3 separate regions of the Homo sapiens genome follow, and all the other regions are linked to region 1. The links are contacts of gene promoters, found by promoter capture Hi-C in human tissues and cell types (Jung and others, 2019). All regions are on one chromosome and are shown on one strand. Each heading gives the region's core, a stretch centred on a gene start or on the middle of the fragment in contact. The rest is flanking DNA. Distances are from core to core; before and after follow the strand shown.

Evidence for each region. The method cuts DNA at HindIII sites, captures the fragments that hold promoters and counts their contacts. A contact is called where the count stands out against the background at its distance.
Region 2: a fragment that was not itself captured here is called in contact with the fragment with the promoter of SYF2 in region 1 in 1 of the 25 tissues and cell types used here (aorta).
Region 3: the fragment with the promoter of PAFAH2 here is called in contact with the fragment with the promoter of SYF2 in region 1 in 1 of the 25 tissues and cell types used here (heart left ventricle).

Annotation. Positions count from the first base shown.
Region 1 is chr1:25,230,953-25,233,925 of GRCh38, forward strand. It overlaps SYF2 (SYF2 pre-mRNA splicing factor), which reads right to left and starts at 1,550. Exons shown (of 7, transcript NM_015484.5): 1 at 1,492-1,550; 2 at 1,152-1,259. The coding sequence starts at 1,515. It overlaps LOC124903881 (a long non-coding RNA gene), which reads left to right and starts at 1,637. Exons shown (of 2, transcript XR_007065555.1): 1 at 1,637-1,727. RefSeq lists enhancers at 1,368-1,517, 1,660-2,573, 1,758-2,007. The HindIII fragment of the contact is 38,585 bases long and covers 1-2,973 here.
Region 2 is chr1:25,768,700-25,771,567 of GRCh38, forward strand. The region is part of intron 7 of MAN1C1 (mannosidase alpha class 1C member 1); the gene reads left to right. Among named protein-coding and RNA genes, the nearest start is that of SELENON, 30 kb to the right of the region's middle. The HindIII fragment of the contact is 8,181 bases long and covers 1-2,868 here.
Region 3 is chr1:25,996,464-25,999,332 of GRCh38, forward strand. PAFAH2 (platelet activating factor acetylhydrolase 2) reads right to left here and starts at 1,600. Exons shown (of 11, transcript NM_000437.4): 1 at 1,562-1,600. RefSeq lists enhancers at 1,346-1,425, 1,596-1,685, 1,696-1,745. The HindIII fragment of the contact is 6,472 bases long and covers 1-2,869 here.

The sequences.
Region 1 (2,973 bases), core at 300-2,799:
CCCGCCAGCACGCCCGGCTAATTTTTTCTATTTTTAGTAGAGACGGGGTTTCACCGTGTTAGCCAGGATGGTCTTGATCTCCTGACCTTGTGATCCGCCCTCCTCGGCCTCCCAAAGTGCTGGGATTACAGGCGTGAGCCACCGCACCCGGCCCAGTATCTTACATTTTTATATAGGAGGCAGAAGTAACGGAGTGAGACTAATGCTGTATTTGTTAATAACAGTCACTGGTGTTAGTCAGAAGAAAGAAATATGTGGTCATTCTTGTAATTTGAAAAGTCTTCTTTGTTTTGTCTCACTACAACAGTCAGAGTGATTTTGGGATTTTGTGAAACCATGGCCTAGCTGTCAGGTCACTCCATGGTGAAACAGGGGCTGCTTTTCTCTTTCTCTGCTCCAACTGCAGCAAGCTATTTGCTGGACTCTTATCCCTAATACAAATTCTCTTTCTTTGAATTTGTTCCCTTTGCTTGGATATCTCTTTCTCTAACTCCTTTAGTTGTCTGGCTTTCAAACAGTAGTTTAGGTGTCACCTACTACATGAGGCACCCCCTGGAGACCCACAAACTGCATTCCTCTCTCCTCCTCTGCACCTCCAGGGCACTTAAACATCAGATTCCCTATCAACTGGCTGAACTACCACACTGTAGACTTTCAAAAGTTTGCCATTTTTTTTATTTTCTTTTTATTCTTTTCCCCCAGAAGTCCCAAAAACAGATGATTATTTTCTTTTCACTCAAACAGATTCTGACAGAAGATTATTATTTTTTAAAGTGAACCAGGTCTCTTACTGACACTAGACAAGTTTCTTCCTGTCTCTAGCTCTACATATTTCCCTAGGTAAAATGAAGAATTTGTTGGAATCACGGAGCAGGGAGGTTGTTAGTAATGGAGACTCCCAAACCTAACCCAGATACATTAAATTGGATGTGGGTGGGAGAGGGGCTGGAGTGAACAGTTATATTTTCAAATGTTCTCAGAATGATCCCAATGTGCTGCCAGGGTTGAGTACCACCGAACAGAGCTTTCCTCTCAGATGATCCTGCTCTGTTGGTCTGTCAGACGCAGTGGTGTGGCTTCCTCGTCCCCTCTACAAAAGCGCACAGGCTTGGCCAGATGACGGATCTAAGCCGGCCTCCAAGACTACTCACCCGCATCAGGTGCAGCTCCCGGAATTTGCGCAGTCTCTGTTCGCGCTTCTGAGCGGCCAGCTCCGCCGCCGCAGCGAGGGACCCCTCCTCCGCGCTGTCCACCAGCACCTGCGACAAGGAGAACTGGCTTCAGGCAGAGCCGGCTCAGCTTCTCCCAGGACTGCCCAGGCCGAGTCCCCGCCGGTCCCCACAGGCTGGGCCTAGGGCCTCCACCGCCGACTTGACCCCACAGTGTCTGAGCCTCCCTGAAGCGAAACTAGACTTCGCCTCCACCTCTCTCCAGGCCGCTCCCCGGAACCCTCACCAACAAAACCCCCGGTGTACGGTGGGTGGAACTCACCTCGGATGCAGCTATAGCCGCCATCACAACCTTTCTCTCTTCCCACTTCCGGCAACAAGATAGAGCACTTCCGTCAACCTTCAGACAAACGGGCCGATACGTACGAATGGGCTACCATAAGCCCCGCCCCTTCCGGGAGGTCTCCGGAAGTTGGGACCCTTTTAGCTATGAAATATTTTGGATTGCGTAGGGTCTTGCGCAGCCGCGAAAAGTAGCGTGGGCCAGGACAGCGGGAGGTAAGTCGCCAAGAAAAGGGTTGGGAAGAGCTCAGAATCGGACGGCTAGGAAGAAATGACCAAAAGGAGCCTGATAGCCCCCTATTCTGCACGCTGTTCCTGGAAACCGCCTTTGCAAAGACAGTGAGAGAAATCTAACATGGCTCACTCCATCTTGCTTCTAGCCTCGCAGGCCGGCTGTCTTCGCTCATTCCTGGGCATAAACCAAGCTAACCATGGGAGAATTTATAGTTTAACTTTTAAGCAAGGATGATCATAGTCCCTTCCTTAAACAGGGCCCCTCCTTGTTTGGGGGCTGAAACTGCCTTTATAAAACTAATGAAAGACCGGGAGGTTAGGATTATGAGGGGAGAATTCTGCTAAAATGTAGTAAACGATAACCAGCCATTGTTTCGGAGGACATCGGATGTGTAACTTCCCCAATTATTCCTGTAGATAACGTTATCGTAGCACCTAAGATTGGTCTTTTGAGGCATTTTTCAGACTTTCGCATTCTGGCAACTAACTGACCCCACCCAGACTCGTGACCCATGACCCAACCGCTTCTTCTGTCCCACTCCTCCCCCAAGAGGCGGACTCAGCTGTTGAGGAGTGTAGTCCACACCCCTGTGATTGCATCTCCAACCAATCAGCAGCATCCATTCCCTAGTGCCCTGCCCACACCAAACTATGAAATACCCTAACCTCTGAGCTGACCCTTCAGGAAAACTTACTTGAGTGGTAACCCTTCTTCCCTGAGGCCAGCCTCAGGTTAATACAACTGTATACTGCAGTAGCACTTTTCAGTGAATTGGTTTTGTCTGCAGTAAGCAGGAAAAACCTGCAGTGCCATTCATTCCCATGAGTGGAAAGTTCTTTCCATTTAGAGCTTAAGGTGTTGTCACTTTCTCCAAGAAGCAGGTCTTGCCCTTGGCCTGGTGTGGTGGTTCATGGCTGCAATCCCAGCACATTGCGGGGCGGAGGCGGGAGGATTGCTTGAGCCCAGGAGTTCAAGACCAGCCTGGACAACAAAGTAAGAATCAGTCTCTAAATTAAAAAATAAAAGTAATTTTTTTTTGTTTTTTTGTTTTGAGACAGAGTCTTGCACTATCACCCAGGCTGGAGTGCAGTGGCACCGATCTCGGCTTACTGCAACGTCCGGCTCCCGGGTTCAGACGATTCTCCTGCCTCAGCTTCCCGAGTAGCTGGGATTACGGGTGCCTGCCACCATGCCCAGCTAATTTTTGTATTTTTAGTAGAGATAGGG
Region 2 (2,868 bases), core at 311-2,810, 540 kb after region 1:
ACACACACTACATACACTCCCCCTACATACACTCCCCTCACACACCCACAGTCCCCTCACATACATCCACACTCCCCTCACACATACACACATTACACACACTGCGCTCACACATATCCACACTCCCCTCACACACACCACACACATTACATACACTCTCCCTACACACACTCCCCTCACACACACCACACACATATTACACACACTTTCCTCACATACACACTCCCCTTACACACTACACACACACACTTCCCCTACACACACCCCCACACTACACACACTCCCCTCACATATACATACACTACACACTCCCCTCAGGCACACACACTACACACCACCCACACTCCCACACACACTACACACCACCCACACTCCCACACACACACCTATCACCCACACTCCCTCCCACACACACACCACACACTCCCTTCACACACTACACACTCCCCTCACACATTCCACACACACACCCCACACATTACACACACTCGCCTCATGCACACACCCCACACACTACACATAGTCCCCTCATACACTACACACCACACTCCTTGACACACACACACTCTCCCTACACACACATCCACACACCCATACCCCTCAGCACACACACACGCCCCCATACACCTACATACACCACACACATTCATTCACCACACATACACACTCACCCCACACCCCATACATACATACACACACACACACACACAAGCTGTAAAGCAGTGGGACTTTCACATGTGAGATGCCCACATAAGTGCCCCTGAGAGGCAGCTGCATCTCAACACCGCGGACCCTAATGACCTGGCTCCCTCCCCTGCGTGCCCCTCCAGAGGAAGCCTGGACCTTGTCACGCACACACTCCACCACCGCGTGATTGTGGCTAAACTCCTTGGCTTGGCATTCCAGGCCCTTCCTGGCACAGCCCAAGCCTCCCATCCCGGCAGAGCCCAGGCCTCCCTTCCATTCACCTGCTCAGCACTCCATGGGCATCTCTGTGCGCCGTGTAGTTACTGGGCACAGAGCGGGAGTCGCATGCAATCCCTCCCCACAAAGAGCCCACGAGCTAGTGAGGGAGGCAGACCCGTACGCAGGCACTCATCGCACACCCGGCGGGCACCCGATGGCAAGGGGGGCCCACCACCCAAGGGGAGTGCTGCCGCCGAGGGCTTCAGATGGTGCCTGGCCTTGTTTCACTTAATCCCCGTGGCCACCCTATGGGGAGGGACCGGGAGCAGGCTTGTGAGAATGCCTGAGCCCCCGCGTGGGGAATGAGGTGGGGAGGGTGCGCCACACCGAGAGGTGACAGTGCTCGTAGCTGCCGTGCCCATGACGGGGCTGGAGAAGGGCTCTGAGCAGAGGACAACCCATGACTTCCAGCCTCCCCGGCCCCTCCTCTGCAACAGACCTGCCCCTCCTCAACATGCCAGGCCTGGCCCAGCCCTTCTCTTCTGTGGGGCACCTAGGAAGGAGAGAGGTGCCACTTCTCTCTTCCCTCCACACCAGAGCATAGTCCAGCCCACCCCAGCCCTTTCCAGCTCCTCCCCAAAGCACATGCTTCATCTTGTCTGTTCCAATTTTTGCAGATGCTGGTCCGCTCTGGAACACTTGCTGGGCCAGGACTTATTTCTGGATCAGGGCTGGAGGGGGCCGGAAGGGCGAGTGTACCATGTGGCTGGCCTCCTCTCGACCCCCATTCCTGGGTCCCATCTGTCTTTGCCCTGTCTTTTGGTCCCTTGGTCCTCACATTTGTCTTTCTTTCTCTACGTATCTCTGTCTTCACTCTCTGGTTGACTTTGTGCAGCTGTGGAAGGTGAGGCTCTGCCTTTCACCAGCTTGATGGTCTTGGATGAGCCATTTAGGCCCAGTTGCCGTTCTCCCACCTGGGAAATGGGGCCGATAGCACCTGCCTTGCAGGGTGCCCAGGAAGATTAAGTTATAAATAATACATTGAGGCTCCTGGCCCACAATAAATGGTAGCTGTTGACGTGTTCTCTCTTTCTGTCCCTCTTCCCCCCGCCCACTTTCCTTCTCCCCTCTCTGTCTGCCCCCTTCTTCTGCTGAGGAGTTGAAAACACTCTGCCCATTCCCCCCGCCCCGCCTTCAGTCCACCCCCATTTTCTTTCTTCTCTCTGTCTCTCTGCTTAAGTGAATCAGAACACAGAACTGGTTTGTTCTTTGTTAAATCTATCAAATGCCTTTACGTTTCCCTGTTGTTAATTTTCAAAGCCTGGGAGCGAAGTGTTTTCTGTCTTGCGTCTGCGGTGAAGTGTTCCTCGGGCAACCCGTCTTCCTCCTGGGACGGCCCTGGGTGGAGAGACCTCTGGTTCAGCCACAGCCTGTGAGGCCCTGCTCCTTGGCTGGCCCACTGTCCAGCAGGCAGAGGCCACCAGGGCAGAGAGGGGGTGTTCCAACTCAATTCTTCTCTTTCCCGCTCCTTTGAACTCCATTTATCTCAATTTGCTAAATTTAAACTCTGTTTTTCCAGAGTGGCTCTACTTGAGGGCTTGGCCAGCTAAATTAAGGTTTTTCTTCCTCTTTCCCGTGGCCTTTTATGAAGCTACCCAGCATTAATTATCATGTTTGTCACTGGGTAATAAAAATCTCTGAACTCCCTGCCACCAGATTATCTTTGTAAAGAAATGCAACTCACTTACAGTTAATAACCAGAGGCCCTGCCGTCCCCAGCCTGCTAAGGCGAGGTGATTTATAGCACCCGCCGGATGAGCCCGTGCACTTTTGTGCAGGATGAGCGCTCTCTAGACAGCCCTGGTTTCCTCCAAGTCGCAGGCTGTGTCTGCCTCGCAGTACCCATTCCAGGTTCGGTGGCTGCTGGCGAGATGCCCGCTTCCTACCCGTACAGGCACCGGG
Region 3 (2,869 bases), core at 350-2,849, 770 kb after region 1:
CCTGTCTGTACTAAAAAAAATACAAAATATTAGCTGGGCCTGGTGGCGGGCGCCTGTAGTCCCAGCTACTTGGGAGGCTGAAGCAGGAGAATGGCGTGAACCCGGGAGGCGGAGCTTGCAGTGAGCCGAGATCGCGCTACTGCACTCTAGCCTGGGCGACAGAGCGAGACTCCATCTCAAAAAAAAAGAAATAGTAACTACTCACGAGATTGTTGATGAGGATTAAATAATGCATGTAAAGCACTCGATGGATAGAAGGTACTATAACCATAGGAGGCAACTATAATTATTTTAACTACATGCCTCTCAAGTTCCTTATACGTAAAATGGATACTTCGTAAGTGAAAATATTGCCTAGGGCCTGGTGCATTTTCAGTGCTTATAAAATGTTAGGAACTAATTAACAATGCTATGTCTCTCTTTCCTAGCCAAGGTCTCTCATTTTTCCTGGATTAAGCCCTTTGGCAAAACAGATTCTTTCCCAGCAGCCTTTTCAGGCCTCAGACACCCCTACCAAAGCCAGTGTCTACTGAACAGGCCCAGAGGAGCCCAGAGGGAATGGATGGGGCTTAGGTTGCAGCTGTCCTCTCCTGCTGGGACCCTGTTTCTGGTGAGCAGAGGACTGCTGCTCTGCCAGCTGTGTGACACTTTCATCACTGGCTATTTCAAGATACAGTCCAAGATAAGCACTTCTCTTGTGCTTCCTTTCAGACAAAGCTCTCTGAAGACTAAAAGCTCATTGGCCTGACCTTTGGTCTCTGGAGGAAGTGAGGAAATATCATCCAGCTCGTAGACAATGAAGACACCAAGCACTCGAGGGATGAGATTGAGCAACAAGGTGGCAGAGCTAGAGAAGAGGCCTGATAAGAGTGTTCCAGAGCATTAATAATTGTGATAAAAATAATCTCTGTCTCTTGTGAAGGTCTTACAGTTTACAAGGCATCTTCACACATACTAGCTTGTTGGCTCCTCAACACTCCTCACCTGAGACTGATGGAGCAACAGTCATCTCCGTTTTAGAGAGGAAGAAACTGAGTCCCAGAGTTGTATGATTTGCCCAAGGTCACAGAGGGTGAGAGGCAGAGCTGGCCTAGAACCGGGTCTGCTGACTTCGAGTCCAGGGTAATCGCGGATCGGAAAGAAGGAATGGGGACCCTTCTTCCACCGCCATGAAAAACAGAAAACTGAGAGTAAGAGTAAAGTACACAAAGGGTGGAGGAGCATAAAGAAGCCCGGGGTTCAGGGATGTGAGGCTGCAGGGTGAAGGTAGGGCCGAGGAATCAGGGTAGGGCTGTGGGGTCCAAGGTGGGGCTGCGGGGGCTGGGTCCTGGGACGGGAGCTCAGTGGGGATTCCAGGGGCACTGGCCGTTAAAAGTGCGAGGCGACCGTGGGAGGGTCAAGGGAGCGGGTGGCTACAGGTGTCTGAATAGGAAACGTAAAGGACGAAGATTAATGTGCAATTCCTATGACTGAGAGACGCCGAGGCCCCAAACCGGGCCAGAATACAAAAGTCTGCAGGAAGCTCAATTGAGATATAGGTGTTTTCTCCAATCAAACTTACCCAGTCAAGCTGATTCCTCAGAAGCAGCCCCAGACGTTTAACTCGACGGAAATGAGAAACGACCCATGAACCCGTGGCCCTTTGGTCGTCGTAGTTTCCAAGGCTCAAAATGGACGCTTGGAAGCACTTCTCGTTCCTCAATCTAGAACTACAATTCCCGATGTACAGTGCGCGAGATTGCGCATTACAACTCTAAAACTACACCTCCCAGAGTTCTACGCGACCGTCCAGCCCCGCGTGGTCGTGCGAAACCGCCCAAGGCCTGGGATGCGGTGTGATTCCTCCCCCTGGTGGCCTGAAGAGGTGCCGCCGCGATTTCTGCTCTCGAGCGGAGGGTTTTGCCTTAGTCCCGTGCGTAACCCTCCGCCTCACCCTCCTCAAATAGTCCTCAGGCGTGCCTAGAAATGGTCCCCGCTTCGCTTTATTCTCAAGGAGGTGGGAGGAGGTTGGAGTTTGTTTTGTGTCTTCTGCACACTTTGCTTCCTGTAAGAATAATAGACTGATCATTCAAATTAAGGGGACATTCCCTACCAGCCTGCATCTGTTGACACCTGTGATTTTCCATTGTCCTCAAAAGACTCCCTGGCAGAGAAAGGGGAGGAACCCGAGTAATCTGCTGGGCCGCATCCATCCCACATTACTGTCTAATGCTGGTTCTTAGCGACACTGATGGACAAGATACCGCTCCTAGCCTCAACAGAATCACAGTCTAGCAGAGAATTCAGACAAATGAATAATGACAGCACAGAGCCGTGATCTCATGGGGAGACACAGCAAGCGTGGGAGCCTTGAAAAGGGGCCTCTGGCCAGGCTTGGGGGAAAAGGGCGGTGTCCGCAAGGCTTTTTAGAGGGAGTGATGTTTGTTAACATTGAGACCCGATATAAGGAAAGAACGTAGCCAGGAGTACAGAGACTGTGAAGGACGTTTCAGAGTATGGCATTAAGTTCAGTGCTGGCTGCAGCTAAGTGTGAGGGATGGAAGGAGAGTATTCTCGGGGGAGTGGGCGTTAGGCAGAGCCCATCCTCAGGAGTTCTGTAAACTTCTATAGGAAATTTGGATCGTTCAGGCAGCTCAAAAACGTTCAACGGCCCTCTACTACCTATGAAGTGAAGTCCCAACTGCTTAGCCTGACATTCAAGGTCTTCTCCAACCTGCACTCCCCCACGCCCCACCCCCCACCCTTCAGCGCCCCTCCTCTGGGAGCTTTGTTCATGCCTCCAAAGTTTCCGCCGACATCTGTGTGTGCCTCGCACATGTGAGTCGACTCACACTGCCTTGGGTATCTCCTGTATTAGAGGTCTTAACTC